Linked DNA regions of Homo sapiens: all the other regions are linked to region 1. Evidence: promoter capture Hi-C in 16 types of primary human blood cells and fetal thymus (Javierre and others, 2016). All regions are on one chromosome and are shown on one strand. Each heading gives the region's core, a stretch centred on a gene start or on the middle of the fragment in contact. The rest is flanking DNA. Distances are from core to core; before and after follow the strand shown.

Region 1 (3,963 bases), core at 469-2,968:
GCTCCCAAAAACATACACGTCTTATGACTCTCACCCTCGTTCTTCTCCAGATGGGAATCTTCTTTTGCTAAATGGGGCACTGGTAGCTTCATCTCTGATATCAAAATTCATTCTCATGGGCAGCATCCCAGATGTTGAAAGGGAGCGGGGGAATTTTTACCATTATCTTAGCAATAACAGTTGGTGGCCACTGGGGACCCAGGCCCCTTGGTGAGAACCAAGAATGCAATATCAGTCTAAAGAAGATCAAGTAAAGGAGGGGTTCTTAGGAGAATTAAACTAGGATTTAGGAGGTGGGTGACAGAGACAGCCATTTTGCTTTTCTTTTATTCTTTGGCAGTGATAGGCGAAAAATAATGGGCTGGTAGCAAAGCCATTCCCTGGGCTGTTGCTTCCACTCAGATCTGGCTGGTGGAGAGACTGGCAGCATTACAGGCAGGCGCACAACTTCCAGACCTGGGGGCTCAGGGGAGTAGGTTGGAGGCTGCATTCTAGCAAGCCACTGGGGCTCTGATCTCCATCTTTCCCTTCCTTGCTGCAGTGCACACAGGAAGACGTGTCTTCAGAAGATGAAGATGAGGAGATGCCTGAGGTAGGCTTGCCCCCTGAGGTGGCATTGGCTGGAAGCTCTTGCAGTCAGCAACATTGGTACCCATATCCAGAACTCCAGTCTAAAACTGGAGAGAGAAAAATATCAAAGGAATAAAGACAGATTTACTGACCTGGAGGAATAGCCAGTGTAGTAGAGGAGACAGGGCACCCATATCCAACCACTGAAGACAGGTGCAGCGCGGTTCAAACCAAATACTGGGTAAGTTAATTTCAAATGGCTTTGGAGTCCAACAAACCTGTGTTTGCATCCTAGCTATCCTAATTGAGGAATTTTATGTAATCTCACTAAGCTACAGTTTTCTTATCTATAAAGTAGGATTATAATACCTACTGCATATGGTTGTCTTGAGATTAAATGAGGTGTTATATATAAAATGCTTCAGATGATACATGATAAATGCTAAACAATCTATCTGATATATTCTCTAAAAACATACAGAATATAAAATCATGGTTAGGAATTTGAGCTTTAGAGCTAGACAGAACTTGACTGAATCTTAGCTCTGCTAAGAGCTGTGACTTTGGGCATGATAATTGACCTCACTAGACTCAGCTTCCGCATCTATAAAATGGATAATGATAGAATAATGAGTGATGGTGGTAAGAATGAAATGAGCTAGTATCTGCGGCACCTAGGACAGAACCTGGCATGTAATAAACACTCAGTAGACATTACCTGCTGGTGTGGTAATTAGGTATGTCCTGCCAGAAATGGGGAGATCACTCTGATTACTTTTATTTCCTAGCATTAGATTAATATCCCAGGTTCTATAACCGTGTAAGGTTCTTGAGACTGGCAAAGGGCTGACGACATGAAATTTACTCCTCCCAGATAGTGGACAGCCCTCTGGGCCACACCCCCAACATCTGGCTGAGGGGCTCAACCCTACATAGGTTCTCCTCCTTCCCTATGCTCAGTGAGCTAGTTGCTTGCTCACTTAGAGCAGGATGAATAAGGGGCTAATTCTGTTCTTGACCTCTTCCATATATCTCTCTGGACATCCTTTCTCATTTCCATCTGGCAGTGCGTGCCTCTGCATACCTGATTCATGCCTTGCATTTGTAGCGAGGAGAGGAGATGTAATGATTCAGGTTTCTCCTTTAGGCTTGGGGCCCTGAGAACTCCCGGGTGCAATAGTCACCTGGTGAAACATGAGCTTTGAGTCACAGGGTCAGGCCCAAGTCATTTCTGCTAGGAATTAGGGAAGAGTTTCTGCTGCCAAGGGAGTTTTAGGAACAGTTGGAGCAGGGTCAGTCCAGGAAACAAGAGGGCTAAGTCCCTGCCTCGATCTCAGCTGCAGCTCTGCTCGTTTCCGAAGTCCTTGCTGTAGCTTGAGAGCTGAAGATTTAGACTGTGGAGGGAATGGGGCTGGAAATTGTTCTAAAAATGGAAAGCACGTTGCGTTTATAAGACTGCTAGATGGACTGCTTCACTTTAACTTTTGGCTCTTCGCCAAATGGGACTGGGAAGGTGATGGTCATTCTCTAACCTGTGTCGGTTTTTTTCCTTTTCTTTTCACTCCCACCCCACACCTCCTCCAGGACACAGAAGACTTAGATCACTATGAAATGAAAGAGGAAGAGCCAGCTGAGGGCAAGAAATCTGAAGATGATGGCATTGGAAAAGAAAACTTGGCCATCCTAGAGAAAATTAAAAAGAACCAGAGGCAAGATTACTTAAATGTACGTGCCTTCTAGAGAGAGGCTGGTGAAGGGGTTGGTGGGAAATGGCTGGGAAGTAGTAGGCCATCGCATCTCAGTATGGAGAGCAGACTCCTTTTTTGTGCCTAATCCTTTCTTAAATCCTGGGCAAGCTGCCAGACTGCCCCTAAGGTCTAACGTGTGTTTATAAACCACACGACCAAGGAATGTTCCTGTCATCCGTCCCTCACAGGGTGCAGTGTCTGGCTCGGTGCAGGCCACTGACCGGCTGATGAAGGAGCTCAGGGATATATACCGATCACAGAGTTTCAAAGGCGGTGAGTTTGCCCCAGAGAGGGGCCTGCACAAGAGTCACCCATAAAGAAGGGTATGGTGGCAAGGGGCCCAAGAGGTTCTGGGGTCCAGGAGTGCTTATGAACTTTTCAGGCCAAGAATGGAGCTCCTCAAGCCAGTGGCTTGGTTGCATGTCCATCTGTGGTGAACCTAGAGCTGTTGATCTTTTTCTCTCAGTCTGGGAAAGGGGTCTGCATTAGAGACCACTCACCACCTGGACCATTCTACTAACACCTGTTTTTTCCCTCCTTCCAGGAAACTATGCAGTCGAACTCGTGAATGACAGTCTGTATGATTGGAATGTCAAACTCCTCAAGTGAGTGGGGACTCTGGGATTGGAGAGGAAGTTGAGGAGGAGTGTGAGTGGGGCTACTGTGGTGGGATCTCCAGGGCAGCCCCATCCAGCATTTTCATTCAGGGTCCCGGAGCGGGTGTGGGCAGTGGTTTCGTGGTCTGCTGCCAGCCAGGGCAGGGGAGCCCTTATGAAGCTCCTGAGGTGGAACCAGGCATCTGAGCCCAGGCTTGTTGCTTCTTAGAGTTGACCAGGACAGCGCTTTGCACAACGATCTCCAGATCCTCAAAGAGAAAGAAGGAGCCGACTTCATTCTACTTAACTTTTCCTTTAAAGTAAGACTTTTCTTTTCCAGTCTCTCCCTCTGGCCTAGGCTGCCCAGTCTGCCTGACAGTCCTGTGGAGGATGCTGGCCTCCCTCCCCTGATTGTCGTCTCTCTCTCTCTCAGGATAACTTTCCCTTTGACCCACCATTTGTCAGGGTTGTGTCTCCAGTCCTCTCTGGAGGGTGAGTGGCTGGCATGCGGAAGAGGGCATCTCCTCTGGCAGAGGGCGGGGAAGAGACTTGGAGATTTTGTCAGGCACAGCTGACTAACCTTTCTCATGCAGGTATGTTCTGGGCGGAGGGGCCATCTGCATGGAACTTCTCACCAAACAGGTGAGCCTGTCTCTCCTCCTTGGCCAGGCCGGCCTGGGCGGGGATTGTCTGAGCTTTACAGCACACACCCCTACGGGCTGGGTGATAGACATGATGTGGCCCTTTCATTCTGCTGGGCTGGGTCTGCACCCACTGACCTAGACAGACAGGTGGTGGCAGTGCTGGGGGCAAAGGGCAAGGGCCCTCCTATAGACACAGCTGATTGCCCAGAGGACAAGCATGAGGGTTCTCTGGAAGCTCCATCTGGACCTGCTTGCCTTGTCCTTCCCTTCACCCAGGGCTGGAGCAGTGCCTACTCCATAGAGTCAGTGATCATGCAGATCAGTGCCACACTGGTGAAGGGGAAAGCACGAGTGCAGTTTGGAGCCAACAAAGTAAGGATCCTGGTCCTGGGGCTGGTGGGGCTG
Region 2 (3,963 bases), core at 511-3,010, 230 kb after region 1:
AAATTGAGGCTCCAGATGTTACAGATGTTAAGTGACTTAGCAAAGTCACACTGTGGGCCAGGCACAGTGGCTCACGCCTGTAATCCCAGCACTTTGGGAGGCCGAGGCAGTGGATCACTTGAGGTCAGGAATTCCAGACCAGCCTGGCCAACATGGTGAAACCCCGTTTCCACTAAAAACACAAATATTAGCCAGGCGTGGTAGCAGGTGCCTGTAAAATCAGCTATTCGGGATGCTGAGGCAGGAGAATCGCGTGAACCCAGGGGCAGAGGTTGCAGTGAACAGACATCACACCACTGCTCTCCAGCCTGGGCAACAGAGTGAAACTCCATCTCAAAAAAAAAGAAAAAAAAAAAAAAAAAAGAAGAAGACACTGTGAATCCAAAGTTGGAACCTAGGTCTGTCTGCTTTTTCCACAGCAACACACTATGTCTCAAGGCTCCACCCAAGCACACCGATGCAGTGTGTATCTGGGGTACAAACAGGAGAGGTCCTGAGTGGAGATGAGCCCCCAGAGGACTTCAGGTGGGGGATACAAGAGGATAGCAGCTGCCCTTCGTGCCCTGCCATTGATTTCTGTCTAGGTGAGCCAAGCATTAGTGTGAGGAAGCAGGATGGAGAGATACAGAAAGAGGAGGGGCTGGTGGGGCCAAAGGCTTATTTCAGTCTGGGACACTGTTCAAGGGGATAATGTCCACGAGTCACAGAAGGATTTGCGTTTCCACCATCACCAGACAGACAAACTGGCATGCACATCCCACGTGCTCTGATGACCAGACCCCACCCTCCTCACCTGAGACGTTACCACCCACGTAGATGGCTATCGTAACGGCCAGAGAGCCAGCCAGAAACATGGTGAAGAAGTTGCCTTTGGTTTCTCCACTGGTGACAGCCTGGGCCACAGCTCCTTGGGTGAGGAGCTGCTGAGAAGAGGAGAGATGAGGAACAGGGAGCCCAGGAGACCAACAGGGAGAAAGGTTGGGAAGGCCAGGGGAGCAGCCAAGGAGATGAATGAGCACAGAAGACAAGCAAGGGAAGGAGAAAAGCAGAAGGAGGGAAGGGAAAAGAAATGGGGAAAGTGGAGGAAGAAGAAAGGGAAAGAATGTGGGAAAAAAGAAAAGAATTTACCCAACTCATAGGCATTTGAGGGTACAAACCCATGGCAGGGCTCAGCTTTAAAAAGTCTTATCTAAGATTCTTTCTATGGAAGAGTTCCATCAAAGCCAATTTTAAAAGCCTATGTGAAAAATAATTATTCTTGCTGCACTTTATACAATCATCAGGCCAAGTATAATAAAGCACATTGGTCTTACCATGAAAATGGTCTTTCATAAAAATGGGAAACTGAAGAGAGAAAAATTATGTTTCAAGAACTATGATACACTTGTTATTAAAGAAAGAATAAAAATGACAAGAATAAAAATGATGAAGTAGGAGAGGAAAGGAGATTAGGAGAGACGAGAGGATAAAAACGAAAAGTGATAGGGAGTTGAGAGGAAGGGGGACACCAAGAGAAAGAGATAAGGACAACAGAAGGAGCCAGGAACTTTTGCCCAACCCCCTTCTTTCCTTCCCGCAGTGATCCTACCTACCATGAGTACAAACACACCCAGAAACTCTGCCAGGCACTGCCGGGCCAGGAGGCTGCGTATCCGGAGGTGGCCCATGATTTCAGCCGGGGCCTGAGTGAAGACCATGGTGGAAACACCCTATTGCTATTCACTGCTCCCTCTGTCTGCATAGGCACACTGTCACTGCACAGCTACTGCCTGCCTCCAGCAAAGATAAGGAACAGACTTTAAAACCATTAGCTCAGTTCCTGAACAGCAGCTACGTGTCTGTGCACGTGTGTAGGCTAGGAAACAGAGAGATAACAAGAGAATGTCTGGGAGCAGGCTATGAACACAGAGCCTGGAGTTTACCCAACCTCTGTCTCTTTTACCCTTCATTCCCAGTCATCACAGGACTAGCCTCCCCCATCCTGACAAATAGAAGGAAGTACCCCGCTTCATAGACATTAGATCTCTTGGTCCTGAAGTCAGCTCTGCAAAGTAGTACTATTGCTTCCATTCTACAGATGAGGCTAGTGGGCCTTAGAACTCCCCAAGATCAAACTTTTTTTTTTTTTTTTTCTGAGAGAGAGTCTTGCTCTGTCCCCCAGGCTGGAGTGCAGTGGCACCATCTCAGCTTACTGCAACCTCCACCTCCCAGGTTCAAGCAATTCTCCTGCCTCAGCCTCCCAAGTAGATGGGACTACAGGTCCATCACACCTGGCTAATTTTGATATTTTTTAGTAAAGACTTGGTTTCTCGGGAGGCCGAGGCAGGCAGATCACGAGGTCAGGAGATCAAGACTATCCTGGCCAACATGGTGAAACTCCATCTCTACTAAAATACAAAAAAATTAGCGTGGTGGTGCACGCCTGTAGTCCCAGCTACTCGGGAGGCTGAGGCAGGGGAATCACTTGAACCAGGGAGGCGGAGGTTGCAGTGAGCCGAGATTGTGCCACTGCACTCCAGCCTGGCAACAGAGCGAGACTTTGTCTCAAAAAAAAAAAAAAAAAAAAAGACGGGGTTTCACCATGTTGGCCAGGCTGGTCTCAAACTCCTGACCTCTAGTGATTCACCTTCCTTGGCCTCCCAAAGTGCTGGGATTACAAGCGTGAGCCACCGTGCCCGGCCCAAGATCACACAATTATTTCATGGCTGAGTGAATTCAAATCCAGATTTTCTGACTCTCCAGCTGGTAACCCACAAAGCCTCTCATTTAGAACCTGAAGCCTTACCCCAAACCATTTGGATGCTTGAAGAACTCAATAGGCATCTGGAAAGACTGGGCTAAAGACCACAGACTGTGGGAATGAAACTCACATATTGAGTGCTTGTACTTCCCTTATGCCGAGTGTCACATAGGTTAGAGAATACTCCATCTTTGTGTCCCCTGACATGGCTTGACATGAGGCCTTCACACTCATGCTGAGCTCCACCTGGCCTTCTCTGGGTGCATGCCACTCTTGCTCTGCATGAAGTAACCGCATCCTACTTCTTCATATCTCAAGGCTCCAATTAAATGCATTCAAAGAATCTACGTCTAGACACTGGAGAAACAGTGGTGAACAAAACATAGTCTCTGCCCTCCTAGAGCTTATGTTCTAGTAGGTGGAAACAGACAATATGCAACTTTTTAAAATACCATATACAGTTTATGAAGTTCTTGAGGGCTACCATTATGATTTATGTAACCCTGTGGGCTCTACCACTGTCCTGGGCACATCTGTGTGACTAGTAAAGAAATAATATTTCTTTACTAGGTTTAATGGATACTATAGTGCTCCACCCAGATTCCCCCTTGGGAGCCAATATGCCCATTCGCTACATGTAGGAAATACCAGCTGCTGATACCACATAGCTACCTCCCTCATTGGGCAATGCCCTTCAAGTCAGAAAGATGCCTCACCGAAGGTTACATGCCCTCCTATGGGGCCCATGTCAAACACTGATTGATGGAGGGATATAAAAGTCTAGCCTCTTTGCCTCACTTTGCGACAACTCTAAAGGGCTGTTCCAGCTCCAGTTCCCCCATAGGATCCATTTAGGCATCTGTTATATCATCCATGTGTGTCAGTTTCTCCTGGTGCCTAATCTTGTTACAGGAAAGGGGTCTGAATCCAGATCCCAAGAGAGGGTTCTTGGATCTCACACTAGAAATAATTCAGGCTGAGTGCGGCGGCTCATGCCTGTAATCCTAGCACTTTGGGAGGCCAAGGCGGGATCACAAAGTCAGGAGATTGAGACCATCCTGGCTAACATGGTGAAACCCCGTCTCCATTAAAAATACAAAAAAATTAGCCGGGCATGGTGGTGGGCGCCTGTAGTCCCAGCTACTTGGGAGGCTGAGGCAGGAGAATGGCATGAACCCGGGAGGTGGAGGTTGCAGTGAGCCGAGATCGCACCACTGCACTCC
Region 3 (3,963 bases), core at 528-3,027, 200 kb before region 1:
GACTCACACCGCGAGTTGGGCGGGTCTGAGCTCCCAGCCAAGGGTCTCTCTCCTGGGACTGGACTCTGCCGAGCTCACACATCTGATGCCCTGTGGCTAGAAAGAGGCAGCATGTGGTGAGAAGTGCACCAGATGCCCAGTTCTCCGCTTTCTGGCCTCCATTTGCTTATCTAAAAAGAATGAGGTGAACTGGGCTAGAGGGAGCCCCAAGACTCAGTGACTCTGATGGTAAAGCTGACACAGCAGGCAGGCCCCTGCTGCCCAGGCCTTCAGCCACGTGTCCAGGGCTGCTCTCACCGCCCCAGGAAAGCTCAGAAGCTGAGGGGGTCCTGGGCCTCTGAGCTGATGCTCCCCAGGAGAATCCCACTGTATGCAGAGACCCCGAGCACAGCCACGACACTTGTCACCATGAGGCTGATTTAGGGCAAGCCTCCTGGGCATCTGTGTCTTCAAAGATGGTCTCTTAAGACCCTTATCAAGGATCAGGGCTGCAGCTGCCCACTCCCCTACCTAACCAGCTCTCCATCTAGTGTGGGAAACGGGTAAGAAAACATTCTCTGAGAATTACAGCTCCTTAGAGCTGGAAGGGGCCCTAATGCACATGGACCCAGCCCCCCACCCTTCCCAGATGAAGAGAGGGAGGCCCAGAGCTGTGAGAGTTGATGCGAAGGGGGTTTTGCTCTATTCCCTTCAGACCCCACAGGTGAGAAGGCATCTCCAGATGGGTCATCTCTTTATCCTGCTCCTTCCTTTCCTTAAGTAAGAATCTCTCAGTTCAAGAGGCAGAGAAAAGGATTGCTGAAGGCAATCTGTCTCTTCATATCTCTTTCATTCTGCTCCTGGGGCCGAGGAAATGGGTGAGGAGGGGTGCAGGAGGCCCTTGGCCTGAGCACCAGGCCTGGAGCCTTCCCTTCCAGCCGCTGCTCTCCAGAGCTTGGGGTGCACCAGCTTCGAGGCTTTAGAAGCTTCTCCAGCAAGAAAGGCCCTTCTGAGGGAAAAGTGTGTGCGACTGGCTGTCTCCATTCCTTTCTCCATATAGTGTTGACCTTCGGAATTAGCTTTATTCCTGACGTGTACCAGAATTTTCAGTTAATCATGTAAACCAAGGCTCAGGTGACTTGGCTGTGGGCAGTTGGGGCCGGACCAGCCCCTGAGAAACTACTCCCATCCCAGACTTCGTGACGCTTCACTTGGCCAGAGCCCACTCCCAGAAAGCAGGGAAATGTGCCTTTCTGCGTAGCCCAGGCCTATGGAAAGAGGCGAGAGGTCAGGGACAGCTGCACTCCCTGGGCAGGCTGCTTGTGGTCCGGGAGCATCCCGTAGTCTCCCCAAGCCCCACGGCCGTGGGGACCCCGGGTCAGGGCATTATTGTGCATATCCCTGTCCTCAGGCCCCTCATGCTCAGGCCAGACCCTCACCCAGGTGCCCTTGCCCTCAGACTCCTCCCCTTCCAGCCATTGTCTCTGTCTCCATCCCTGTCCCTCTCTTTCTCTATCTTCCTCTCTCTCTGATTCCCTGGGGGCTACTTTGCAACCTCTGCTGAGTCAGAATTCTTCCCACTCGCCCTGACGTCCCAGGCTCCTCCTTGGCACCCTGTCTTCTCTGTGGCAGGGAAAGACGCCCAACCAGAGCTCCCACGTCCTGCCCTGGGAACCCCACTGCTCTGGGAAACAAAAACAAGAAAATTCCTTCCCAGGGTACTTGTTCTGTGCTGTTCCTCTTTGTTCTTGGTCACAGGGTGATTCCCACGTCCTTCCCACACTAACCCTGCCTAGGTGAGGCTGCAGCTTTGTGTGCCTTCCACAACATTTGCTTGCCTGGGGAGCTGCCTGCCTTTAATTATCTTTGGAAAGCATAACTGAGAAGAGCAAGACACCCGTCTTTTCTTTAGGGCTCTTGCCAGGAGCACTGCCTATGCAGCACTTCCCTCCAGGGGGTGCCATTCACATTGAAGTCTTCGTGACTGGCACTCCTTGGAGTTGCACAGTGCGCAACCTATGCTGCTGAACAGGGCAGCCCTGGCTCTGTCTTACTCTCCTGGGAAGCATGGCTCATTATAACACAGATCCAGGATGAGATACCTGAGAGAGAGAGAATCCCCACCAGTCTCTCCACTCATCTCACCTCCCTTTTTAGGTCTCCACCTCCTCCAAGGTGTAATATGGTCAAAGACAGGGCTCCTCCAAGGTGCAATATGGTCAAAGACAGGGCTGTGGATGCAGGCAAGTCCAAGCACACACTCGGGCCCTGCCACTCAATTGATGTTTTATTTTGTGCAAGTTTCCTAATCTAGTAATTAATCAAGTGATCCTCCCACCTCAGCCTCCAGAATAGCTGGGACTATAGACACGTACCACCATGCCCTGCTAATTTTATTCATTTTTTGTAGAGACAGCATCTCACTATGTTGCCCAGTCTGGTCTTGAAATCCTGGGCTCAAGGGATCCTTCTGTCTCAGCCTCCCAAAGTGCTTGGATTACAGGCATGAGCCACTGCACCTGGTCTAATTTTCCAATTCAGTAAAATAGGAAGTGACAGTTATGAGTCTTGTTTTTTGAGGATTAAATTCAGTAATGCGCATAAAGCTTTGGCCCACATGGCACGTGATTGGCACTTGAGAAATGATAGTGATTATTGTTATCTCTTCAAATAAGATTAGCATCCAGTCTTACCTACCACACAGAGATAGCCCCAGAAATAAAATGAAATGAGAAGTAGATCATCTCTAAGATCTTTGAGGAAGTATTTTGCAAGAATCCCAACTACTGTTGTTCTTCTCTCTGTATATAAAAAACGATGAACTGTGAAGCCCCTTTGCTTCCAAGTCACGCTCTGTGACTGATGGCAGATGTCGGGAAAGGCTCAACCAGGAGAGAGAAAGCTTGCAGGCGCGGGCGGCAGACTGAGGGCCCCGGGCGGGTGGAGCTCAATGAAAACCACAGACAGACAGCAGCTGTGAGAGCAAGCAGAGACCCAGAATGGCTTTAAACAGAAAGCAGAGGCCCACAGCAGGGAGTGAGATGAGACCAGGTTTAAACGTCACTTTCCCCTAAGTCCTTGTTCATTCACAGCTTCCTTCAGTAGCTCTGACCAGCTTTCTCAGCACCTGCCGACCGACAAACCAACCAACCAATGGAGGCTGGTGCTGGGGGTGGAGATGGCCAAGAGCCGGTGGTGAGAAGTGAGGGAGAATGGGGAAGAAGGGGCTCCACAGAGGGCACTTGATCCGGGACGGCTTTCCGGAGGAGGTGATTTCCTAGGCCTAAGGGGCCTCCGGGCAGAGGGGCCAGCATGAGGGAAGCTCGGAGGTGGGGGAGCATGGATTGGAGGAGAGAATAAGCAGTTGCTTGCTGGGGTGTCATAAGATGCGGCAGTGCACTCAACGCTACAGGAGCAGGCACGGGCCTTTTTCACCAGCCTAAGGATTTTGGAATGACTCTTCTATCAGCCAACAGTTTCCAACCTTATTTATGTACTTGTTTCTTTGATTCCAGCGATGCAGGAGAGATGATATTCAGACAGCCGACTTCTGCTGTGGGTGTGCCCCAGGTTATAAATCATTTCCATCAGGCTAGCTGGAGTCCCGGCCCTTCCTTTCCACTGAAGAAAGCAAATCAGAGTACCAGATAGCGAGAGTGATATTATCACAGGATAGCCTTGAAACTGCCATAACAAAAAAAATAAATCGTTCACAAATGTCAATCCTTCAACTACTATTAGCCCCAGAGAGACTGTTTGTCTGCCCCAGTGTGTCGCTGTGCAGAGGCTGAGAACGTCCCCTCTCCTCTTCCCACACCTAGGAGAGGGGGAGCCACTGGTAGATTGGGAGCAGGGGAGGGTCTGGAGTTTCAGAAAGATTTCCCTGGCTGCAGTGTGGAAGGGGGATTTGAGGGGAAGACGGGACACCAGCTGGGGAGGCTGCTGTAGTAACAGAATGCTGCCCCCACCACCCCTGGGTACAGT
Region 4 (3,963 bases), core at 1,033-3,532, 170 kb after region 1:
GGGGTGGTGCATGCCTCTAGCTGCAGCTACTCGGGAGGCTGAGGCAGGAAAATCTCTTGAACCCGGGAGGTGGAGGTTGTAGTGAGCCAAGATCATGCCACTGCACTCCAGCCTGGGCGACAGAGCGAGACTATTGTCTCAAAAAAAACCAAAAAAACAAACAAAAAAAAAAAACAAAAAAGGCCAAATCCTAAATGACCAGCAGAGAAAACTGAGAAGCAACCCATCTATTCATAAAATCCTCAAAACGCTCATGAACTGGCAGCTCCAAGTACCTCTGGAACTGAGTTTGTGTGTCTCTGAGTGTGTGAGTGTGCAAACAAGGAGGACTGGTTGAAAGCTGTTTGAGAAGCACCCTTCATTACTGAGTAACTACCCCTCCCTCCCTCCCACAGAAATCTGCAAGCTTGTTCTCTGTACAGGATAAAACAGAGAGTCTCTGAACTGGGTGATACCAGGCACATTTGACAGCATGGCTATGGCTTGTAAACTCGGGAACTAAGGGACTGCGTATGCCAAATGCCCCAGGCTAAGACCCACAGCCCTCTGCCTCCTTTCGGGGGCCAGAACACTGGCAGGCTGGCCTGTTCCCTCCTAGAAGGAGATTCTTCTCTGGGTAACCTGACTGGCCCCAGACGAAAGACCTAAAGATCCAGACATGTGGGGACTCCCCCAGCAAACAGTCCCGTCCAGATGCCCACCATGTGAGCTTCCAATCAGCGCCTTCGTTCCCATGTCAGAGCTTTCTCTTTGCTACTCCCCACCCACGCTGCCTGGCCCTCTGCACTGGGGGTATTCCAGGAAGAGACCACATGAGCAATACCCCACACCCTCTGACTAGCAGTTGGTCTAGACAACGCAGAACCCGGAAGACCAGAGGGAGGAGGAGCGTGAGATCAAGATATCTGTTCCTCTGGTTCTTCTCTTAGAGGGTTCCTCTCTTAGGCTGCCTGTGTCTCTCAACCAAAGGTTATAGCTCTCCTATACTCTGTCTTTGTAAATGGCCATTTTGTAAAGAAATCCTCCTAAAATAATCCTAACTTGAGTAAACCATATGTTTACTGTAAGGACTTAACTGATATTTGCCTGTCTTATAAATAATCAGTCAAAGATCACCAGACAGCTGAAAAAAACCTCAGACATGGAAGATAAAAACAAATGAGCAAAAAGCAGACTGAAAAGCAATTTGCAGAAATAGTTTCTACACAGGAAGAAGAAAACTTCAAAAGAAAAATATCAAATAATACTTCAGAGAGGCCAGGCACAGTTGCTCACACCTGTAATTCCAGCACTTTGGGAGGCTGAGGTAGGTGGATCACCTAAGGTCAGGAGTTTGAGACCAGCCTGGTCAACATAGTGAAGCCTCGTCTCTACTAAAAATACAAAAATTACCCAGGCATGGTGGCGCGTGCCTGTAATCCCACCTACTCAGGAGGCTGAGGCAGGAGAATCGCTTGAACCTGGGAGGTGGAGTTTGCCGTGAGCCGAGATCGTGCCATTGCACTCTAGCCTGGACAACAAGAGCGAAACTCCGTCTCAAAAAAAAAAAAAAAAACAGGAGAACAGGAGGACACATGAGTTTGGAGCTTCATACAAACGTGTGGTCAATAACAGAACAGGCCTGTATTTACCTGTGTACAAAAACGCCTGTGTGTCTGCAGCTACAGACAACCTACTATGAAACCACTAATCATTTCCTCATTGCTTTCGGATTCAGGCTTCTCCTCCAGACATGCTTAGCTGTGGTTTAGGAGCTGCTACGCTTATGGGGTCTTTCCAGTGTCTTCCTAGCGCCTTCCTTTCCTCTCCCAACCCCTACGCCCTCTGCCCTCAGGGTTCCCAGGTTAAACAATCAAGATACACACTTCCGCCTCTAGGCACCACGCCCCATCCTCTTCCTGGAGCTCCACCCACAACAAGGTACTGAAGAGGAGGAAGTAGAGAGGAAGAACACTAGATTATTGAATAAATAACCTGAGAATTGAATAAATTGGAAGTTAGCCCTATTGTTAATCTTTGAACCATGGGAAATGGTAGCATGGGAAGAATGACCCCTAAAGCCACTGAGTTGGGGTGGGGCTGGCTCTCCTCCACTTAAAACCCCTCAGGGCTCTGGCTTATTCCCAGAATAAGGCTGAAATCCCTTCACCGAGAAAAGGGTTCTCCAGAAGTCACCCTGCTTTTCTCTCCTGCCTCATCTCTTGCCACTTTCTCCTTGTTATCTGGGCTCCAGCCACAATAAACAATGTTCTTGCAGACAAGAGCATTGACTTCATGTGGGCAAGTGTGGCTCTTGTCCCGGGCCTCATGGTTAGAGGGCCCTGAATTATTCACACATGTGCACACACACATTTAACACACACTGCTCCTCTGTCATTAGGGATCGGGTGCTTTTTGCTGACTTAGAGAAACCCCATGCCTGAAACCTACTCATCTGCTCTCAGGAGAGGTAGTAATTGTCACTGCTCATTGATAAACACTCCCTGTCTTCATTGGAGCAGGCCCAGGGGTTGTTGGGTTTAACTCCATCCCAAATTCCAGAGATGAGCCAGGTTGATGTAAGCTAGTCAGGGGATCTCCCTCCACCTGTCTCTTCCCTGTACCTACAAGCATGCACAAACAGGGCACAGCACTTCCCTGGTCAAAGGGCTTGGTTCGATTGAGGATAGAGCAGTGGATGGCACAGGAGACACCCCCCTCCCTTGCTCTGAATCAGGCAGAGTGTAGATGTGAGGCCTGGGAATGATAACAGCCATTTAGTTCCCCCAAGATAAGCCAGACTTGGAACATTGCCACTTGACACCCCCATTACCCAAAGACAACTGGAGATAGCTGAGCTAAAGCTCAAGCATCGTCATTTGGAGGTTGGTTGGTTCGTTTGTTTGTTTGTTTGTTTTGAGACAGGGTCTCTGTCACCTGGGCTGGAATGCAGTGGCATGATCTCGGCTCGCTGCAACCTCTGCCTCTCGGTTTCAAGCGATTCTCCTGCCTCAGCCTCCCCAGTAGCTGGGATTACAGGCGTGCACCACCATGCCCAGCTAATTTTTGTATTTTTAGTAGAGATGGAGTTTCACCATGTTGCCCAGGCTGGTCTTGAACTCCTGACCTCAAGTGATCTGCCTACCTCGGCCTCCAAAAGTGCTGGAATTACAGGCATGAGCCACAGTGCCACTGCACTCCAGTCTGGGCGATAGAGGGAGACTTTGTCTTAAAAAAGGGCCAGGTGCAGTGGCTCACTTCTGTAATCCCAGCACTTTGGGAGGCCGAGGCGGGCAGATCATCTGAGGTCAGGAGTTCGAGACCAACCTGGCCAACATTGTGAAACCCCATCTCTACTAAAAATACAAAAATTATCCAGGTGTAGTAGCTCACGCCTGTATTCCTAGCAACTCGGGAGGCTGAGTCATGAGAATCGCTTGAACCTGGGAGGCAGAGAATGCAGTGAGCCGAGATCACGCCATTGTACTCCAGCCTGGATGACAGAGCAAGACTCTGTCTCCAAAAAAAAAAAAAAAAAGAAAGAAAAAGGAAAAGAAAACCATTGCCCTCAGGTCACATCTGGCCTACTACCTATTTTTGTACAGCATGTGATGGTAAATTTCATGAACATAAAAGACACACGGGCACACGTTACAAAATAGTACATACTACATGATTCCATTTATATAAGGTGCAAAAATGATCTATAGTGTTGGGGATCAGGATACAGGCTACCTTTGGGGAGATGGGGAATAGTGTCTGAGACAGGACACAAAGGGATGTTTGTTTGTTTGTTTGTTTGTTTTTGAGATGGAGTCTTGCTCTGTAACCCAGGCTGGAGTGCAGTGGTGCCATCTTGACTCACTGCAATCTCCATCTCCCAAATTCAAGCGATTCTACTGCCTCAGACTCCCGAGTAGCTGGGATTACAAGCGTGCACCACCACGCCTGACTAATTTTTGTATTTTAGTAGAGACGGGGTTT
Region 5 (3,963 bases), core at 911-3,410, 140 kb after region 1:
TTGCAGTGAGCTGAGATCGCGCCACTGCACTCCAGCCTGGGCGACAGAGCAAGACTCCATCTCAAAAAAAAAAAAAAAAAAGGCTCTTAGGATCAATAACATTTATCAAGCATGCATTTTTGTCTGTTACAGTATTTTATACTTTTGTTGTTGTTGTTGTTGAGACAGGGTCTTGCTTTGTCACCCAGGTTGGAGTGCAGTGTTGCTGTCACGGTTCACTGCAGCCTCGAACTCCTGGGCTCAAGTGATCCTCCTGCCTTGGCCTCCTAAAGCACTGGGATGACAGACATGATACACCACATCCGGCCTCAAAAAGTATTTTATACTTTAAAGCTTGTAGTGACTTGCCCAAAGGTCCCCTAGCTGGTGAAGCAGTTAATGGGGAGACAGGCCTGGACTGCCTGCCCTCAAAGCTGTTTTCTCTCTGCTACCTCAGCGGCCTCTCTCAGAGACAGAGGAAATTCATTTATAGTGATGTGGATTGCAAAACATTCCACTGACCAAAGGCATATGAATAGATGTGGGGGACCTCAGCCACTCTCAGGGCTTGAAATAATATCTGCCAGCACACGACTCCCACATTTACATCTCAAGCTCAGTCCTCATTCCCAAATTCCTGACTCCCATATCCAACTCCTTATCAGCATCTTCTCTTGATTGTCTCGTTGCGGCCAGGCGCGGTGGCTCATGCCTGCAATCCTATAGCACTTTGGGAGGCCGAGGCAGGCAGATCACTTGAGGTCAGGAGTTCGAGACCAGACTGGCAACCTGGTGAAACCCCATCTCTACTAAAAATACAAAAATTAGCCAGGTGTGGTGGTGTGCACCCGTAATGCCAGCTACTCTGGAGGCAGAGGCAGGAGAATCGCTTGAACCCGGGAGGCAGAGGTTGCAGTGAGCCAAGATTGCACCACTGCACTCCAGCCTGGGAGACAGAGACTCTGTCTCAAAACAAAAACGAAAACAAAAGACATTTGTTTCCATATGTGCAAAACTGGCCTCTCATCTTGTCCTACAGCCCACCATCTATGCAATGGGGCCAGCACTTCTCTCACCTGAGGCTGTTTTGAAGATTACATGAGATCACAGATGCCAAGGGCCTAGCACAGCTACTTGCACACAGTTGACACACCATAAATGGTAACAGTTATTGTAACCATCATATAGAGAGGGAAGACCAAAGGATGCTTTTCGGGAAAGCGGTTGGGAAGTGGAGTGGGAACTGATTCAGAGAACAGGTGCTGGGGAGAATAGGCTGGATGCAGGGCCTCAGGGACATACTCCTAAGAGTAGAAAGCACCCGACAGAGCTGGCAAGGGATGAGCAGGAGTGGGGGAGGCTGCTGAGGTCCAGCTAACGTCAAGCCTGAACCCAGTGGCAGAAAAGCCTCTGCCTTTGCCAGGGACTTTTGACCTCTTCAGATCCCAGGCAAGAGGAGAGGGTAAAGAACACAGATTAACTACACAAAAAAACCTCCCAGCTGGACACAAAGGCTCACGCCTGTAATCCCAGCACTTTGGGAGGCCAAGGCGGGTGAACTGCTTGAGCCTAGGTGTTCCAGAGCAGCCTGCAACATGGCGAAATCCTGTCTCTACAAGAAATACAAAAAATTAGCCAGATGTGGTGGTGCACGCCTGTAGTCCCAGCTATTCCGGAAGCTGAGGTGGGAGGATCACCTGAGACCAGGAAGTCGAGGCTGCAGTGAGCAGTGATTGTGCCACTGCACTCCAACCTGGGCTACGGGAGTAAGATCCTGTATTTAAAAAAAAAAAAAAGGCCTTTTCTTTGTCACCTTCCCCTTGCCACTCCAGCCCTCAAGGATCCCACCTGCAGACTTGCAGTTATGACCTGGCATTTAGCACTTCCCTCTGCTAGACTTCAAGGAGCTAAAGGGCTGAGGACTTGTTACCCCAGAGATACTTCTCCAGGGCAGGGAGCATCCATGTGTCCCCACAGAGCCCTCTGCTCCAGAACATAACACACCCTCAGGTAGTACACATTGTTAAAGAGGAGGCAAGAATTTTCCTGCCCAAGATGGACATATAGGGAATCTCTAGAGATTTGTATATTTTCTTCAGGTCTTCACTCAAATATTATGTTCTCAGCAAGGCATTCCCTGGCCTCCCATCCAAGGCACCATGCCACCCCACCCTGCCACAAACACACATGGGGTCTGTCTCCCTCTCGGCTTTAGTTTTTCTCCTTAGCACTAGTCGCTAGCATACCACATACTTAATTTACATCCTGTTAATAGTCTCCCACACTAGAATGAAACTCAACTAAGCCTGGGGTTTTTGTCTCTTTTATTCATGGTGTATCTCCAGCTCTTAGAATAGTGCCTGGAACAGAGTAGGAGGTGTTCACTCCAAAAATATATTTTTGGAGTGAATGAATGATCACCTACACTTATTTAAGCACTTGCTGTGTGTTAGGGACTTCTGTAAACACTCTATTTAATACCTTACTTAGCTCATCTCATCTTCATAACCACCCTTCGAGGTAATACAATTATTTCTATTTTCTAGAACACTGGCTGTCAAAGAAGTTAAATCACTTGCCCAAGGTGTTATCATTTTTACTTGGCAGTGCAGGGCAGAGATGTGCCTGGCTTGAAGACCTTAGCCATCACCTATGCAAAATGAGCTGTGTTCAGGTGGAGGAGAGCAGAAGGCAGAGGGGGATAAAGGAAAAGAGAACAGAAAACCTCTGGAAGAAACTGGTTAACACTCTAGCCCAGCACCGTCCAGTAGGGCTTTCCACGATGATGGAAGAGATCTGTATCTGCACTGTTCAGTACAGTAGCCACTAGCAATGTGAGTGTTGAGCACTTAAAATGTGACTAGTGCAACTAAGAAACTAAGTTTTTATTTGATTTCATTTAAATTAATTTTTTGGAGACAGGGTCTCCTGTCGCCCAGACTGGAATTCGGTAGTGCAAACATGGCTCCATGCAGACTGGACTCAAGTGATTCTCCCACCTCAGCCTTCTCAGTAGCAGGGACTACAGGCTCATGTCACTGTGCCCAGCTAATTTTTTAAATCTTTTTGTAGAGACGGCATCTCACCCTGTTGCCCAGGCTGGTCTCCAACTCCTGAGCTCAAGAGATCCTCCTGCCTCAGCCTCCCAAAGTACTGGGATTACAGGCGTGAGTCACTGCGCTGGCATAATTTAAATTTAAATAGGTACACGTGGCTAGTGGCTACCGTATTACAGAGCACAGCTTCAATCCAGACTAGATTCATTGACTGGAAACTCTTTTGCTTGCTGGGTCTGTGGCTTCCAGGCCTGGTGGGACCAGGATTCAGGAGACGGGGGAAGGGAGTGTATATTTTCAGCAGTCAGCACCTAGGTTACTTTGTGTAATCTACAAATACCCAGTGAGGGGAGTATTTGTTTACCCTGGCTGCTGAGGGCTGGAGATGAGGGTCAGGGTCAGGATCAGTGTGCCTGCTGCCTTGGGATCTTGGTCCTCAGTCAGAGGAACTTCCTCTCTCTAACCACCCCCTACCCCAAGCCAGACAATCTGTTCACGGGTAGTTGGTACCCAGTGGCCCGGTCAGAGTCTGGGGTTTCTCAGCCCTTCTCAGGATTTACCCATGACCATTTTCAGGCTCCTTTTAGGGTGGAGTCTGCATAGCTGATCCTACACAGGCCTCACAGGCTCTACACCGACTCAAGAAATGTTTGCTGCAATGAATAAACAAGCAGCAAGCCAAAGCAAGGAGAGATTTCTGGCAACAGAGAGCCCGAAGCGGGAGGGCCTTCATTCAGTTCCTCAATGACACCATTTAGGCAGCCGTCCTCAAACCTGACAGTGCCTAAGAATCACAAGGGGCAGTTTGTTTAAAAGGACATGCCCCAGGCCTCACTCCTAGGTGTTCTTATTTAATAAATCTGGGTTAGGGTTCAAAAATCATCATGTTTACCAAAGCCCTCCCACCCAGCACACACACCAGATCTGA

Evidence for each region. The method cuts DNA at HindIII sites, captures the fragments that hold promoters and counts their contacts. A CHiCAGO score of 5 or more calls a contact.
Region 2: a contact is called between the fragment with the promoter of AQP10 here and the fragment with the promoter of UBE2Q1-AS1 in region 1, in 11 of 17 cell types (M0 macrophages, non-activated CD4 T cells, endothelial precursors and 8 more). The highest score is 10.1, in M0 macrophages.
Region 3: a fragment that was not itself captured here is called in contact with the fragment with the promoter of UBE2Q1-AS1 in region 1 in 2 of 17 cell types (megakaryocytes and erythroblasts); the score reaches 7.8 in megakaryocytes.
Region 4: a contact is called between a fragment that was not itself captured here and the fragment with the promoter of UBE2Q1-AS1 in region 1, in 2 of 17 cell types (endothelial precursors and megakaryocytes). The highest score is 7.9, in endothelial precursors.
Region 5: a fragment that was not itself captured here is called in contact with the fragment with the promoter of UBE2Q1-AS1 in region 1 in 6 of 17 cell types (endothelial precursors, megakaryocytes, M2 macrophages and 3 more); the score reaches 15.7 in endothelial precursors.

The regions. Positions count from the first base shown.
Region 1 is chr1:154,551,364-154,555,326 of GRCh38, reverse strand. UBE2Q1-AS1 (UBE2Q1 antisense RNA 1) reads right to left here and starts at 1,718. Exons shown (of 2, transcript NR_046668.1): 1 at 1,655-1,718; 2 at 299-677. UBE2Q1 (ubiquitin conjugating enzyme E2 Q1) reads left to right here. Exons shown (of 13, transcript NM_017582.7): 4 at 542-592; 5 at 2,155-2,295; 6 at 2,507-2,591; 7 at 2,863-2,923; 8 at 3,144-3,234; 9 at 3,348-3,406; 10 at 3,508-3,556; 11 at 3,835-3,930. The HindIII fragment of the contact is 6,880 bases long and covers 1-3,963 here.
Region 2 is chr1:154,318,890-154,322,852 of GRCh38, reverse strand. It overlaps AQP10 (aquaporin 10), which reads right to left and starts at 1,760. Exons shown (of 6, transcript NM_080429.3): 1 at 1,593-1,760; 2 at 794-920. The coding sequence starts at 1,697. RefSeq lists a silencer at 1,790-1,981. The HindIII fragment of the contact is 12,155 bases long and covers 1-3,963 here.
Region 3 is chr1:154,747,220-154,751,182 of GRCh38, reverse strand. The region is part of intron 3 of KCNN3 (potassium calcium-activated channel subfamily N member 3); the gene reads left to right. Among named protein-coding and RNA genes, the nearest start is that of KCNN3, 120 kb to the left of the region's middle. RefSeq lists enhancers at 1,282-1,785, 2,681-2,890 and a silencer at 1,983-2,032. The HindIII fragment of the contact is 1,620 bases long and covers 968-2,587 here.
Region 4 is chr1:154,383,642-154,387,604 of GRCh38, reverse strand. No RefSeq gene overlaps it. Among named protein-coding and RNA genes, the nearest start is that of IL6R, 20 kb to the left of the region's middle. RefSeq lists an enhancer at 652-861. The HindIII fragment of the contact is 3,747 bases long and covers 409-3,963 here.
Region 5 is chr1:154,408,066-154,412,028 of GRCh38, reverse strand. The region is part of intron 1 of IL6R (interleukin 6 receptor); the gene reads right to left. Among named protein-coding and RNA genes, the nearest start is that of IL6R-AS1, 3.5 kb to the right of the region's middle. The HindIII fragment of the contact is 3,649 bases long and covers 336-3,963 here.